Linked DNA regions of Homo sapiens: regions 1, 3, 4 and 5 are each linked to region 2. The links are contacts of gene promoters, found by promoter capture Hi-C in blood cells and fetal thymus (Javierre and others, 2016). All regions are on one chromosome and are shown on one strand. Each heading gives the region's core, a stretch centred on a gene start or on the middle of the fragment in contact. The rest is flanking DNA. Distances are from core to core; before and after follow the strand shown.

Region 1 (2,819 bases), core at 312-2,811, 160 kb before region 2:
TAGTTGATTAGAACTACAACCTGGGACTTGTGACCGGCATTTGAATTGGGGGACAGTCTTGTGGGACTGAGCCCTTAATCTGTTGTTGGCTGGAGAGGGGGGTCTGTGCTAACTCCAGATAGCTAGTGCCAGAATTGTATTAAATCATAGGACACCTACTCGGTCATCCACAGAGAACTGGAGAATCACTCGGTGTGGAAAATCCATACATTTGGTATTAGAGTGTTATGAAATGGATATAGAGAGAAACAGTTGTTTCTTTCCCTATATAGATGCTCTCAGATATTACAGTAGTAATGAAAAAAATGCAAACATAAACTAAGTAATGTGGTATTTCAAGAACAAAAATACCTATTTATACATGGTAGGAATAGCAGATAATCTCTGGGAGAAAGTAACATATTAATGGAGGGCATGGGATAAATGAAATTAGGAGACACACTAAAGTCACAATTAACATGGCAAAAAGTCACAGTAAGAAAACATACTTAGTATATCATACTTGGAAGTAGACAAGATACAGTATTGAATAATAAATTTTTAGGTATTTTTAGGAAACAATTTTCCTTCCCTATGTCTATGCATTTATTTCTGCTGCCAGTTAAACATTACTGTTACAAAATATAAAAGGCCAATGTCAACATTTAATGAAGCTGTAGACCTACCATCAACTATTGTATCCACAATGAAGCCTAGTAATGCCACATCATTGGCACAGGGGCATTTTGTCACTTTGAGATCTACCACATGTGGATATAATTTACTGATTTCACTTTCTGGAATCACATCCCCAGGAGTCCACTGAAGAATCGGTTCTGTGGAAATCAAATTTGGGTGTTTAAATTGTGGGAGCACCCTTGAAAATGGATGCTACTTTCCTTTAAAGGTTTTAAAAGAACTATGTAAAGAAACTATTCTATAGTTCAAAAAAGGTGCATTACCTCACTCTGCATTGGTTAAAAATCAGTCAGTGACTATTTTCCAGGATATAAGGAGTAAAGTCTAATTCCCCTTGGTGGGGGGCTGGCAAGGTTACATTGCAGAAGAGCATGTGGAATGAGAGAGATTGCTTTGGCCACATTTGAAAAATACCATTTGCCACAGGATCTATCCCTAGAAATGGAATTGCTGGATCACAGAATACGCACATTTATAACTTCTGAGCCCACTCATTTACTTTTTGTTCTCTTCCCAATCCCACTGAAATAGCAGTAGATATATAAAAATGGGAATAAATCCAGAGTAGCAGTGGAGAACAGGGACAGTTATCATTAGTGGCCAAGAGACTGAGAGGGATTTCTGGAAGGTAGTTGAAAAATACTATTTGCCACAGGATCTATCTGTATAAATGGAATTGCTGGATCACAGAATATATTTATAACTTCTGCTTCTAGAGCCCACTCATTTACTTTTTGTTCTCTTCCCAATCTCATTGAAACAACAGTAGGTAGATGAAAATGAGTAAAATCCAGAGTAGCAGTGGTGAACAGGGACAGTTATCATTAGGGGCCAAGAGACTTAGAAGGATTTCTGCAAGATAGAAGTTGGGAATGAGATGCAGAAGAGAAAGCAATCAGAGGTGAAGCATCTCCAATGCAGCACAGGCAGAATAGCAGCACTAGTGGTGAATAAGGTCTTTCACGTGGCAAACCAGGCCTTCCAGAATCTGACGTCCTCTTGGTTCCTCAGCTTTACTTCTTGCCAGAACTGGCCTCCCATTACAGGCTCTAGTTTGTGGGGCTTTGAATATCTGTTTTTCTCACAACCCTATTTTTCAGTCCTCAATGTGAATGTCTCCCTCTTTGGGAAGCCTTCCATGACGCCCTAGAATGAGTGAGGCTCTCCTCCCAGGTGCTCCAATAGGACTCTGCACTCACTGTAACTAGAAGAATCAGGGTACACTCTTCCTCACCAGACCAGGGTAGACAATGAGCCTTTCGAAAGAACGTCATCAGACAAGGCGTCACAAATTTTAAAACTTAAAATATTACTTTTGGATATGCAAAGGATTGGAGCTAAAGTCGAATTTTCATGCATTAATAAAAGGGAGGGTTTTTTTTCTTTTAGAAAAAAATGAGAAAAAAAAGAGTACAAAAAGTAAGCCAGGGCAATTTGAAAGACAACTGCTGTCTGAATTTCAAAAATAGTCAAAGGACTTTTAAAAGCAGAGATAACTGATAACCAGTTATTTAGCTATTTACATTCTCCTCTGTCTCCCCAACTTTCAATAAAATCTGCTACAAACCCAAAGACTTTATGTGATATTTTTTTCACTTTGTGCAAAGCAAGAAAACAAGCTAACTTTTCATCTGGGTTGACGTAGTGCAGCACAAGGACAGCCAAGAAGGGAAAGAGACACAATCTCTAACTACACTAATTCACCAGGAAGTCACTCCAGAATTCAAAGAAATGTGGGGCAAAGCAGCTGACGTTGCAGGGTATAATATTTGTTTGCAGACCATTCACACCCAGGTCAGGGAGATTTCAGCTTACCACTGGACATCACGGAGCTGACAATGCCCCCCTACTTATATACAAGTTCCTGAAGTCAGGTAGTATATCTTAAGCATTTTAAGAACAAGGAACTGATTAAAAGTTTTGACTGCTACTAAGAAGCTAAAAAGGGGACAGAAAAGTGACCAATATGAAGGTCACTGGTGACTGTGATTAGCAACAGTTTGAGTAGCGTGGAGGAGATGGAAACAAATGAGTGGTTTGGGGTGTGGATTGGATATGAAGAAATAGAGACAAGGTTTTACACTCTCTTTTGAGTTCAGTAGTGAATAAAGATTTCTAACTCTAGCCTTAACTCTTGATTC
Region 2 (3,154 bases), core at 140-2,639:
TCTCTCTGTGGGTGACCCCGTTGGCTCAGAATGAACAACTTGGGCACATTACAGTAACCACCCAGGCCACAAAAATGCGTTGAAACCACTGAAAATGAAATAATCAGACCTACTTAAATGTTTTTACCATCTGGGCAAATAACACCCCAAGGGCCAAGACTTACCTAAGAAAGTGTCTGAAGTATGTTACCCAAGCCTGAGAGGCAACAGGTAGGTGGATTTTGTGCCAATTAGAAAGTGTTATGATTGGCAAACCACTGCAAAACTCTGAAATTGCAGTGAAATGGAAATGCTGGCTGTCATCCCCAAAGTACATTTCAAGGAATCACAAAACTTCAGAATTAGAAGCAATTATTTAGGATGAACGTTTTCACCCACATGAAAGTTGGAAGATGAGGTGGTAACACGAGAGCTTTTGCAGGCGTCCCTACTCTTAATCCTGCGCCCCTTCCACCTTGGTACCCTTCATTCTTCAGGACCTGATGGAGTGGTACAAAGCAGAGGTCACTTGACAAGCTCAGCCCAGCTCCTGGATGGGGCAAAGCTGACAAGGAATAGGCACAGGGAGCCTGGAGATCTCAGGGTCCAGGAAACAGCCTGCCCCATTAGAACTGCACAGCAGAGCACAGCACTGGGATCAGAGAGCAGGCTCATCCCCAGTCTTGTACAAAAAATAACATTTGATGATTCCCAAGGGGTAGGTAAAGCAAGTAGCATTTGGGGTTCCAGCAGCCTCTAGAACTGTTTCCCAAATGTTTGGAGCTTGACTTTGCAGTATACACTTTGCCCTGGACTGTTTTTCTCTTAATTTTTAGGCCCAAGTGTATTTTAAGGTAAATGGATCCCACATGCCTCTGGTGCATTTACACTGAACCCATCAGACCACATTTTGAAAGCGCAATTTGAGGTCCAAGAAGCCCTTGGAGGCTGCTTTTATGAGCCTGAGTTTCTTTTCTTAGAAGCAGGAAGCCACATTTTGACATGAACAAATAAAACACAAACCTTAAAGACTCGGATCTGGTTCCAAATGTGGCACCTCTGAAACCAGTGGGTCCTCAAATCATCAAGACAGAAAGCTTCCCAGTTTTCTTTTTGAGAAGTTCATGGAGACTTACCCCTGTGTTCTGTTGAGCCCAGAGGCAGTGGTTCGGAGGCGCTCGGTGCAAAGCTCACGTAAACCTTCAGCATTTCTGATTCCATCCTTCTTCCCAGCCCCTGAGTCTCCCTACACAGCAGGGACCCAGGCTCACTGCTGCCTTCTGGCCTTTGCTTTTCGGAGCCGAGCTGAGTGAGTCCCAAGGGAATCACCCTCTGTTTTATAAGCTTTGAAACCAGAGCATCCTGAGCCATTTGGTGCTGATGTGATTGCTAACACCACTTGACCCTGACTGAAGAACCACAACTAGGCATGGTTTAGATGTGCTTAGTTAGAGAAAAAAATAACCACAGCCAACAGCAAAGTGAGGTGTGTGGTGTGGGTGTGAGAAATGCTCTTGGGGTGAGGAGGGAGGACTTGCAGCTTCTTGGATGCTACAGGGCGTGGAACATGCTGTTTCCTTCCACTGAAGGCCTAAGATACTACTAAGTGGAACAGGAGAATTCCCTGGCCCCCTCACAGGATGTGCAACAGGGGTGTGGCTCTCTCTTCAGCCACCCCAAGCTAAAACCCCTTATGGGAAGGGGAGCACGCAGACAGGCAGGTGCAGGAACCAGGGTGAGCACTTTTGGGCCCCAGCCCCATGACAGCATCCCGGGGTCGGTGTCTGTGACTTCCAAAGCCCGAGTAGGCACTGAAACAGTGCAGTCTTTCAGCCTTGCCATCCGTGGACAGCTTAAGCGTTAACCAGCTTAGTGGACCCTCTCCCTTTTTGCCAGGGCAGAGGGCCAGTGTGACAGTTTCCTGTATCCCGAGCTCTTGTCCAGCATCCCGGAGGGATCAGGTCACACATGGATTTGCAGGATGAATGCAGGGGTTTTATTGAGTGGTGGAGGTGGCTCTAAGTAGGATGGATGGGGAGCTGGACAGGGGATGGAGTGGGAAGATGATCTTCCCCTGGAGTTTGGCCATCCAGTGGCCAGTTTTCAGATCGTCTCCAGTCGAATTCCTCCCAATGTTCCTTCTCTTCTCTCCTTCTTTGCCGTGCTTTTCTGCCATTCATGTCTGCTCATCTTCTTGTCTCCCCGTCTGCTTCTGGAGCCTGGAGCCTGGGGTTCAGGGTTTATATGGGTACAGGATAGGGGACATGGCAGGCCAAAAGGCAACTTTTTAGGGATGAAAACAGGAATGGCTGTCCTCATTTAGGGCCATGGGTACCCAGGCTTGAGGGTGGGGCCTTTGCCAGGGAACCACCCTCTTCTACCCAGTATTTCCCTGTCTCCTGTCCATATCACAAGGATCTGTGGAATGCCTACTAAGACTAGGGGTCCAGGACACAACTCCTGATAGGCACTGTGGGGGTCCTTAATGAATACCTCACCAACAGGTAGGATGGGAGCACCCTCAGATGGATCTGTAGACTCCACCTCAGCTATCAGGGAGTGCACTTTTTTCCTGAAGCCTTGGGTTGATTCCTGGGATGGCACATAAAGACAGCCATCCCAACCTGTTCTCCTGTGACTTGCAATGTTGACTCTCTTGGCCCCTGCACAGGGTTCTAAGACTTGAAGGATGTCCAGAGGCCCTGACCAGGAAAAGAATAATGTATCCTACAATGAGCAGAAAAGACATTGAGGGCAAGGCAGCTAGGGCTCCAGCCCCATCTGTCCACCTCTCTTTCTAGGGTTTATAACAATACATTCTCAACTCTGGCTACATAGTCAAGTTTTCAAAAATCCTGATGGCCGGGCCCTACCTAAGCCCAATGACATCAGAGTGTCTGGGGGCATGTCCCGGGGAATCAATCTTTCCTCCAAAGTTCTACTGGTTATCCGTCTATGCAGCCAGGGTTGAAGGCCACTGGTTTAAAGTAACTTGAATACATTCCTGTTCTGCAGGAGCACCGGAAATAATCTACGTAAGAGAAGGATTGTTGGTTGTTTTCTAATCAGATGAAACAGGACTCAGGGATGATGCCTCCCCCTAACTTCCCCACGACCCCTATTTCTCTGCCCCACCGCCCCCCTCCCATCAATTTGCCAGAGTCACAGATAATGC
Region 3 (2,782 bases), core at 197-2,696, 240 kb before region 2:
CTAGACACAGATCTTACAATCATCACAAAAATTAACTCTAGGCCGGGTGCAGTGGCTCACACCGGTAATCCCAGCACTTTGGGAGCTGAGGCAGGCAGATTGGTTGAGCCTAGGAGTTCAAGACCAGCCTAGGCAACATGGTGAAACCCTATCTTTACTAAAAATACAAAAATTAACCAGGTATGGTGGCACATGCCTGTAATCCCAGCTACTCAGGAGGCTGAGGCAGTGGGATCACTTGAGCCTGTGAGGTGGAGGTTGCAGTGAGCTGAGATAGTGCCACTGCACTCCAGCGTGGGTGACAGAGCCAGACCCTGTCTCAAAAAAGAAAATAAAGAACTCTAAATGGGCCACAGACTTAAATATAAAATGTAAAACTATAAAACTCCTAAGAAGATAACATAGGAGAAAATCTAGATGACCTTGGGTATGGCAATTACTTTTTTCCCTCAATTAAAAAAATTATGTTAAAATATATGCTATGGTTTTAATGTATTCCTCAAAGTTCATGTGTTGAAAACACAATTTCCAATGCAAGAGTGTTGAGAGGTGGGACTTTTTTTTTTTTTTTTTTTTTTTTGAGACAGAGTCTTGCTCTGCCGCCAGCCTGGAGTGCAGTGGCGCCATCTCAGCTCACTGCAACCTGAGAGGTGGGACTTTTAAGGGGTGATTAGATCATGAGGCTTTGCCCTCACGAATGGATGAATGCCATTATTGCAGGAGTGGGTTAATTATTGTGTGAGTGGGTTCCTGATAAAAGAATGAATTCAGTCCCTTCCCTCCCCCTGTCTTTCTCTCTCTCTTTTGCACATGAGTGCTTCATATGCGTGCTCACATGTGCTCACCCTTCTGCCTTCCACCATGGGATGACGGAGCATGAGGCCCTCACCAGATGTGGGCCCCCCAGTCTTGGATTTCCCACCCTCCAGAACTGTAAGAAATAAATTTCTTTTCTTTATACATTACCCAGTCTGTGATATTCTATTATAGCAGCATGAAACAGACTAAGAAGATACACCTAACAAAATTTACCATCTTCATGCAATGACTGTTGAATACAACACCAAAGACACAATCCATGAAAGAGAAAATTGATAAATTTCTCTCCAGTTTTCCTAAACACAAGTAAAACCATTAAGTAATTTGGATAAAACAGTGGATTACATGAACCAATTTATGAACAAATAGTTTATAAACAAAATATACCAAAAATAGCTAACAAACATTTGATTAACATTTGGTCGACCTCATTTGTAATAGAAGAAATTGCAATTACAACAATGGGATACAATTTTTAACCAATTAGTAAAGATTTTTAAATGACAGTGTTAAGCAGTGAACACTGAATTTGTGTTAAAAATACATGCTATGGTTTGCATGTATCTCTCATTAGTAATTGGTACCTTACTAAAATTACAAACTTACACTCTGAAATATCCTGTCAAGAGAATTAGAAGACAAGCCACATACTAGGAGAAAATATTTTCAAAAGACATATAAAGGACTGTTATCCAAAATAAACTGTAGGGGAAGGGAGAAGAAACCTCTTTTTCCTCTATTCTCCTTGGTTCTGTAACTGAGACCCTGACAATTATACTGACAAATACAGATTAACAAGAGAAAAACAGGTGGAATTTATTAACATGTGCATTGTGCTTACATGCAGGAAAAACAGCAGTGATGAGTAGCTAAAAAGGGTAGTTAGAACATGGGGCTTCATAACAAATTTTTAGAGAAGTGACAAGACAAAGAAAAATGGGCTTAGGTTTTTAGGGTCAGCAAACTGTGGAAGGTAAATAAATGGAGGGAACTAATGGAAGATAAGGGTTGTTTTGAGAAGGTTTCTTCTGTAAATTCTTTGTGTCTCTGGGTTTATTAATAGTCTAGAGTTGCTTGTGCCTGTAATCCCAGCTACTCTGGAGGAAAGCCTGAGGCAGGAGGGTTGCTTGAGGCCAGGAGTTGGAGACCAGCTTGGATGCAACATAGTGAGATCTTGCCTCTAAAAACATTTAAAAATAAAATAAACTAGCTGGGTGTGGTGGCACATGCCTGTAGTCCCAGCTACATGGGAGGCTGAGGCAGGAGGATTGCTTGAGCCCAGGAGTTCGAGGCTGCAGTGAGCTATGATTGCACCACTGCACTCCAGCCTGGGTAACAGAGTGAGAATCTGTCTCTAAAAAGAAAAAAATATATATTTATATAGTCTAGAGTTATCTTCAGTGATTAAGAATCATTCTGCCCTTTCTGGTGGGAGGGGGCAAAGAGTTTTTCTTGTGCTTGTTTTTCCTTAATTTCCTTCAGCTCAAATAATCTTTATGCCAAAGTGGCATATTCTTTGTTTTTTTGTTTTGTTTTGTTTGGAAATTGGAGGTCTCACTATTTTGCCCAGACTAGGCTTGAACTTGAGATCCTCCTGCCTCAGACTCTGTAGTAGCTGCACCTACAGGCACACACCACTGCATGGTTCTGGGTTGGCATAATCTGATCTCCTACAATACAAAAATCTCTAATAATATAACAATAAGAAAGTGTACAACCTGATTTAAAAAATGGGCCAAAGACCTTAACAGATACCTCACCAAAGAATATATGCAGATGGCAGGTAACTATAGCAAAAAATGTTCTACATCATATACTGATATGGTTTGGCTCAATGTCCCCACCCAAATCTCATCTTGAATTGTAATCCCCACGTGTCAAGGGAGGGACCTGGTGGGAGGTGGTTGGATCATGGGGGCGGTTTTCCCCATGCTGTTCTCATAACAGTGAGGGAGTTCTCATG
Region 4 (2,781 bases), core at 35-2,534, 190 kb before region 2:
TTCTTTCTCTACCCTTTAAGGCAGCCTGTCTAAGCCCCCCACTCAATCTAGGGATCCAACCCTGAAGTAGAACAGCTTTTGTCACCCTGGTTCTTGGCTGGGTTGCTCTTTCTCGGACCCCAAAGTACTTCTCAGAGCTGTGCCAAATCTTATGGGGGAAAGAAGCATGTGAATTCTTCTGTGGGTTATCTAAATGGGCCTGTATCCCACTTACGGTTTTCAATGTTATTTGTCGGAAATACCTGGGATAAATGTTTAAACAGTCCCAACTCCAATTCTTTTGCCCTTTCTGTCCACTTGTTTTGCCATCTCATTTGTTGCCCTTCCATTACTGCTTACTGGGATTGCAGCAGGACCTGAACTTAGATTAAGGTTGATGTGTTAAAAAAAAGGCTATATTGGTCATCGCCAGTCATTAGACTGTTGGGGAAATTAATTCTTTTACATGTTTGGCTCTCCTGACTGTGTGGCAAAATTTACACAGGCATGCCTATTGGGACCATGAATGGTACCATCAACACTGGTTGTGTAAAATAAGGAGGATTCACCCAACTCCTGGCAATCTAGTTGCAGGGAATTATTGATACAGAGGCAAAAGCAAGGCATCAATATAGGCTGCTCCTCTGCTCACTAAAGGCCCCTGATTTTGTCATCCTCTTTGGGACTCCAGCTGGTCACATATTATGGTCCATTTCTGTGCACATTTTAAACTGAGGGGCAAGTTATAGCAAAAAAAATTCAGAGCTCACATGGTTAATTTGCAACTATAAAGTTAATCAGAGTTCTAAAGTTCTCTATCTTCTTTTTTTTTTTCTGCCTGCCTTGAATCTGCTTTGAATCTGCTTTTACTAAGCTGTGGTGCTAAGACTCATTATTTATGTTCTAACTGAAATGTAAACATTGGAAGCTCATTTGGAATGGAAGAAAAAAAGGATAAAAGAGACTTTTAAAAACTGAACTGCCACATGAAATTTAAATTAGTTTTTTCAAATTCTGTAAGGAATGTCAATGGTATGGAACCAAAAAAGAGCCCGTATAGCCAAGACAATCCTAAGCAAAAAGAACAAAGCTGGAAGCATCATGCTACCTGACTTCGAACTATACTACAAGTCTACAGTAACCAATACAGCATGGTACTGGTACCAAAACAGACATCTAGACCAATGGAACATAACAGAGACTTCAGAAATAACACCACACATCTACAACCATCTCATCTTCGAAAAACCTGAGAAAAACAAGCAATGGGGAAAGAATTCCCTATTTAATAAATGGTGCTGGGAAAACTGGCTAGCCATATGCAGAAAACTGAAACTGAACCCCTTCCTCACACCTTATAGAAAAATTAATTCAAGATGGATTAAACACTTAAATGTAAAACCCAAAGCCATAAAAATCCTGGAAGAAAACCTAGGCAATACCATTCAGGACATAGGCATGGGCAAAGACTTCATGATGAAAACACCAAAAGCAATTGTAAGAAAAGCCAAAATTGACAAACAGGATCTAATTAAACTAAAGAGCTTCTGCACAGCAAAAGAAACTATCATTAGAGGGAACAGGCAACCTACGAATGGGAGAATATTTTTGTAATCTACCCAAGAATCTACAAAGAATCTACAAGGAACTTAAACAAATTTACAAGAAAAAAAATCCCATCAAAAAGTGGGCAAAGGATATGAACAGACACTTCTCAAAATAAGACATTTATGCAGCCAAGAAACATATGAAAAAAGAGTGCAACATCACTAATCATTAAAGAAATGCAAATCAAAACCACAATGAGATACCATCTTATACCTGTCAGAATGGTGATTATTAAAAAGCCAAGAAACAATAGATGCTGGCAAGGCTGTGGAGAAATAGGAACGCTTTTACACTGTTGGTGGGAATGTAAATTAGTTCAGCCATTGTGGAGACAGTGTGGCAATTCCTCAAGGATCTAGAACCAGAAATGTCATTTGACCTAGCAATCCCATTACTGGGTATATACTCTAAGGAAAATAAATCATTCTACTATAAAGGCACATGCGCATTTGGGCCCTTATCTACTTGCTACTGTATTGCAGCACTAGTTACAATAGCAAAGACATGCAACCAACCCAAATACCCATCAATGGTAGACGGGATAAAGAAAATGGGTACATGTACACCATGGAATACTATGCAGCCCTAAAAAGGAATGAGATCATGTCCTTTGCAGGGACATGGATGAAGCTGGAAGCCATAATCCTCAGCAAACTAACACAGGAACAGAAGAAAACCAAACACCGCATGTTCTTACTCATAAGTGGGAGTTGAACAGTGAGAACACATGGACACAGGGAAGGGAACAACACACACCAGGGCCAGTTGGCAGGTGGGGGGCAAGGGGGGAGAGAGCATTAGGACAAATAGCTAATGCATGTGGGGCTTAAAACCTAGATGACAGTTGAAAGATGCAGCAAACCACCATGGCACATATATACCTATGTAACGAGCCTACACGTTCTGCACTTGTATCCTGGAACTTAAAGTAAAATAAAAAACAAAACTGAACTGCCGTAAAGACTGCTTTAGCCAAATTTTGGTCCATTGCCTTTCTTGGATTACCTACTAAGGCAAACAAAGTTCAGCCATGTGAACAGATTCCAATTTTGTCACAAAAATAATTCAGATCCAGCTATCTTTTATAAAATGATGAGATTATATTGCTATCTTGTGGCTAGAATTCTAAGGTAAAAGCTATTGGATATTTGTGTGTGCATATACATGTTTAGATATATTTATGTGATGTTGATG
Region 5 (3,041 bases), core at 460-2,959, 210 kb before region 2:
GCAAACTAAATCTTCAGTGAAATACCATTAGGCTGGGCACAGTGGCTCATGCCTGTAATCCCAACATTTTGGGAGGCCTACATGGGCAGATCATTTGAGGTCAGGAGTTTGAGACCAGCCTGGCCAACAAGGTGAAACCCTGTCTCTACTAACAATACAAAAAAAAAAAAAAAAATTAGCTGGGCATGGTGGCGGGTATCTGTAATCCCAGCTACTCGGGAGGCTGAGGCAGGAGAATCGCTTGAACCCGGGAGGCGGAGGTTGCAGTGAGCTGAGATCATACCACTGCACCCCAGTCTGAGCAACAGAGCAAGACTCTGTCTCAAAAAAAAAAAAAAAAAAAAAAAAAAAAAAAAAAAGAAATGCAGCAAGAGGCAAGAGGGAGCTTTCTGGAATACTGGAAACGTTCAACATTGTGCTCCTAACAATATTCACAATTACTTTCATTTATTTCACAATCATATAAAGTCTGATCACCAGAATCTTAGGTTGACACAGCTGCTGTCTCAACACATGATTCAGACATACAAACCACATGGATTAATCTTGATACTGACATAAGTTAAACAAAAGCTTTATTGACAGAATAGAGAATAAATAAACTGAGTGGTGAAGATCTGGAGAAATAGCATCAGGATTTTGTGGTCTGTCCTTATTCTCAAACAAGGAAGGACCAATAGAGGAGATTGTATAACTGTAAAACTGCTTTTGCTGGTGAACATCAAGGACAAAATATTGAGGCCTGCAAAACCATGCTTTTTGAAGTTATATCAGAAACTTCGTCATTTAAAATCGTATCAGAGACTGAAGATCAGAAGAAACTGGAGATCAGAAGAAATTTTAAACTATACAATAAAAAATGCTGTGTGTTAAAAACAACAAACAAAAAAACACAGCCTCTGTCTTGTCTTGGTGACAGTGTTTTTCTAATTTCTGTTAGACCTAATAAGATATCTCCAAGTCTACCTCAATCTCAAAAGTTACCCAATAATCTATAATAGTTCATTGTTGAGGCAATATTGAGAGAAGGAAGGTAAATCAACAAAATCCTGAAGGCTCTCGGTTATACCCTTCTAACAAGTAAGAAGGTGTATTGGTCCCTTTTCATGCTGCTGATCAAGACATGCCCGAGACTGGGCAATTTACAAAAGAAAGACATTTAATTAGACTTACAGTTCCACATGGCTGGGGAAGATCTCACAATCATGGCAGAGGGTGGAAGGCACTTCTTACATGGTTGCAGCAAGAGAGAAATGAGGAGGAAGCAAAAGCGGAAACCCCTTATAAACCCATAAGATCTTGTGAGACTTATTCACTATCATGAGAATAGCACAGGAAAAACCAGCCCCCATGATTTGATTACCTCCCCCTGGGTCCCTCCCACATGTGGGAATTCTGGGAGATACAACTCAAGTTGAGATTTGGGTTGGGACACAGCCAAACCATATAAGAAGGTGACAGTGGATGAGAAGATATCAAAAGGAAAAGTAAAGGGAAAAATCAAGCCCTCATAAGTGAAGCCAGGTTTACCACTTTCCAAGGCACTTTACTGAGTTGAGAAAATGGGTCCAAGTCCTATCTAAATGAGGTGAAGCAGATGGGTCTCAAGAATAATTCACCTACACTATGTTAGAGCAAATAGAAGATCTGACCAGTGCTGCACCTTTAATGATGAACTTGATGGAAACAGGAAGAGTGGGAAGAACAGAAGAAGAAGGAAGGAAAAGGGATAAAGAAGGAGGTGGGTGAGTAGAGGAGGGGAGTAGGGAAGATTAGAAAAAGAGGGATTATAGAGAGGAGGCAGAGCAAGATGGCTGAATAGAGCCTCCAGTGATTATCCACCCCTGCAGGAACATCAAATTGAACAATGATCCACACAAGAAAGCACCTTTATAAGAACCAGAAATCAGCTTGGGTACCAGCTTGGCCACAGTGGACAATTCACGAAGTGGGCTCCTGGGGTCTCTGATTCCAGGACTTGGCTCTTGTGTGGCATTTCTAAACCTGCCCTGGGCCAGAGTGGGGCCACTGCCCTGAAAGGAGAAATCCAGGACTGGCAGCATTCACCAGAAGCTGACTGAAGAGCCCTTGGACCTTGAGTGAATAGTGGCGGTAGCCAGGGGGTAATTGCCATGGGCTTGGGGTGGTGGTGGCCATGGAGAGAGACTGCTCTGCTTCAGGATAAAGGAGGGAAGAGTAAGAAAGACTTTGTCTTGCAGCTTGGGTGCCAGCTTAGCCGCAATAGAATAGAATACCACATAGACTCTAAGGGTCTCAACTTCCTTGGCTTCCAGATGGCATCTCTGGACCTAGCTGGGGCTGGGGGCAACTCACTGCCCTGAAGGGAAGATCATAACCCTGGCTGGACTCATCACCTGCTGATTATAGAGCTCTTGGGCCTAGAGTGAACATAGGTAGTAGCCAGGCAGTGGAAACTGTGGGCCTTGGGCAAGACCTGGTGCTGTGCTGGCTCTGGGTTTGACCCAGTGCAGTCCTAGTGGTGGTGGCTACAAGGGTGCTTGCATCACCCCTCCCCTAGCTCCAGGCAGCTTAGCACAGAGAAAGAGACACTATTTGTTTGGTGGAAAGTAAGGTAAGAGAACAAAAGTCTCTTCCTGGTAATACAGTCTCTTCCTGTAATACCTGGTAATACAGTCTCTTCCTGTAATACCTGGTAATACAGGTAATACAAGTTCTCCTGGATCTTACATAAGACCACCAAGGCAGTACTTCTACAAGTTGGCAATAGCCAAAGCATTACTGGGCTTGAGGTACCTCCTAATGCAGATTCAGCTGCAGTGAGCAAAGACTTAGATCACAACACTCAAGTCCCTTTGAATACTTGGAAAGCTTTCCCAAGAAAGACAGGTACGAACAAGCCCAGACTGTGAAAACTAAAATAAATACCAAACTCTTTAATCCCCAGACACCAATCAATGTCCAGAAGCATCAAGACCATCCAGGAGAACATGACCTCACCAAAGGAACAAAATAAGGCACCAGAGACCGATCTTGGAGAGACAGAGATATGTGACCTTTCA

The links. The method cuts DNA at HindIII sites, captures the fragments that hold promoters and counts their contacts. A CHiCAGO score of 5 or more calls a contact.
Region 1: a fragment that was not itself captured here is called in contact with the fragment with the promoter of TC2N in region 2 in 2 of 17 cell types (M2 macrophages and megakaryocytes); the score reaches 5.4 in M2 macrophages.
Region 3: a contact is called between a fragment that was not itself captured here and the fragment with the promoter of TC2N in region 2, in 3 of 17 cell types (megakaryocytes, M2 macrophages and M1 macrophages). The highest score is 7.4, in megakaryocytes.
Region 4: a fragment that was not itself captured here is called in contact with the fragment with the promoter of TC2N in region 2 in 2 of 17 cell types (M2 macrophages and megakaryocytes); the score reaches 6.2 in M2 macrophages.
Region 5: a contact is called between a fragment that was not itself captured here and the fragment with the promoter of TC2N in region 2, in 7 of 17 cell types (megakaryocytes, M2 macrophages, M1 macrophages and 4 more). The highest score is 14.3, in megakaryocytes.

The regions. Positions count from the first base shown.
Region 1 is chr14:91,703,887-91,706,705 of GRCh38, forward strand. It overlaps CATSPERB (catsper channel auxiliary subunit beta), which reads right to left. Exons shown (of 27, transcript NM_024764.4): 7 at 666-815. Among named protein-coding and RNA genes, the nearest start is that of CATSPERB, 27 kb to the right of the region's middle. The HindIII fragment of the contact is 3,640 bases long and covers 1-2,819 here.
Region 2 is chr14:91,866,147-91,869,300 of GRCh38, forward strand. It overlaps TC2N (tandem C2 domains, nuclear), which reads right to left and starts at 1,390. Exons shown (of 12, transcript NM_001128596.3): 1 at 1,116-1,390. RefSeq lists an enhancer at 1,556-1,605. The HindIII fragment of the contact is 17,848 bases long and covers 1,322-3,154 here.
Region 3 is chr14:91,625,804-91,628,585 of GRCh38, forward strand. All of the region lies in intron 17 of CATSPERB (catsper channel auxiliary subunit beta), which reads right to left. Among named protein-coding and RNA genes, the nearest start is that of CATSPERB, 100 kb to the right of the region's middle. The HindIII fragment of the contact is 3,656 bases long and covers 1-2,782 here.
Region 4 is chr14:91,675,722-91,678,502 of GRCh38, forward strand. The region is part of intron 11 of CATSPERB (catsper channel auxiliary subunit beta); the gene reads right to left. Among named protein-coding and RNA genes, the nearest start is that of CATSPERB, 55 kb to the right of the region's middle. The HindIII fragment of the contact is 3,861 bases long and covers 1-2,781 here.
Region 5 is chr14:91,652,347-91,655,387 of GRCh38, forward strand. All of the region lies in intron 15 of CATSPERB (catsper channel auxiliary subunit beta), which reads right to left. Among named protein-coding and RNA genes, the nearest start is that of CATSPERB, 78 kb to the right of the region's middle. The HindIII fragment of the contact is 2,277 bases long and covers 572-2,848 here.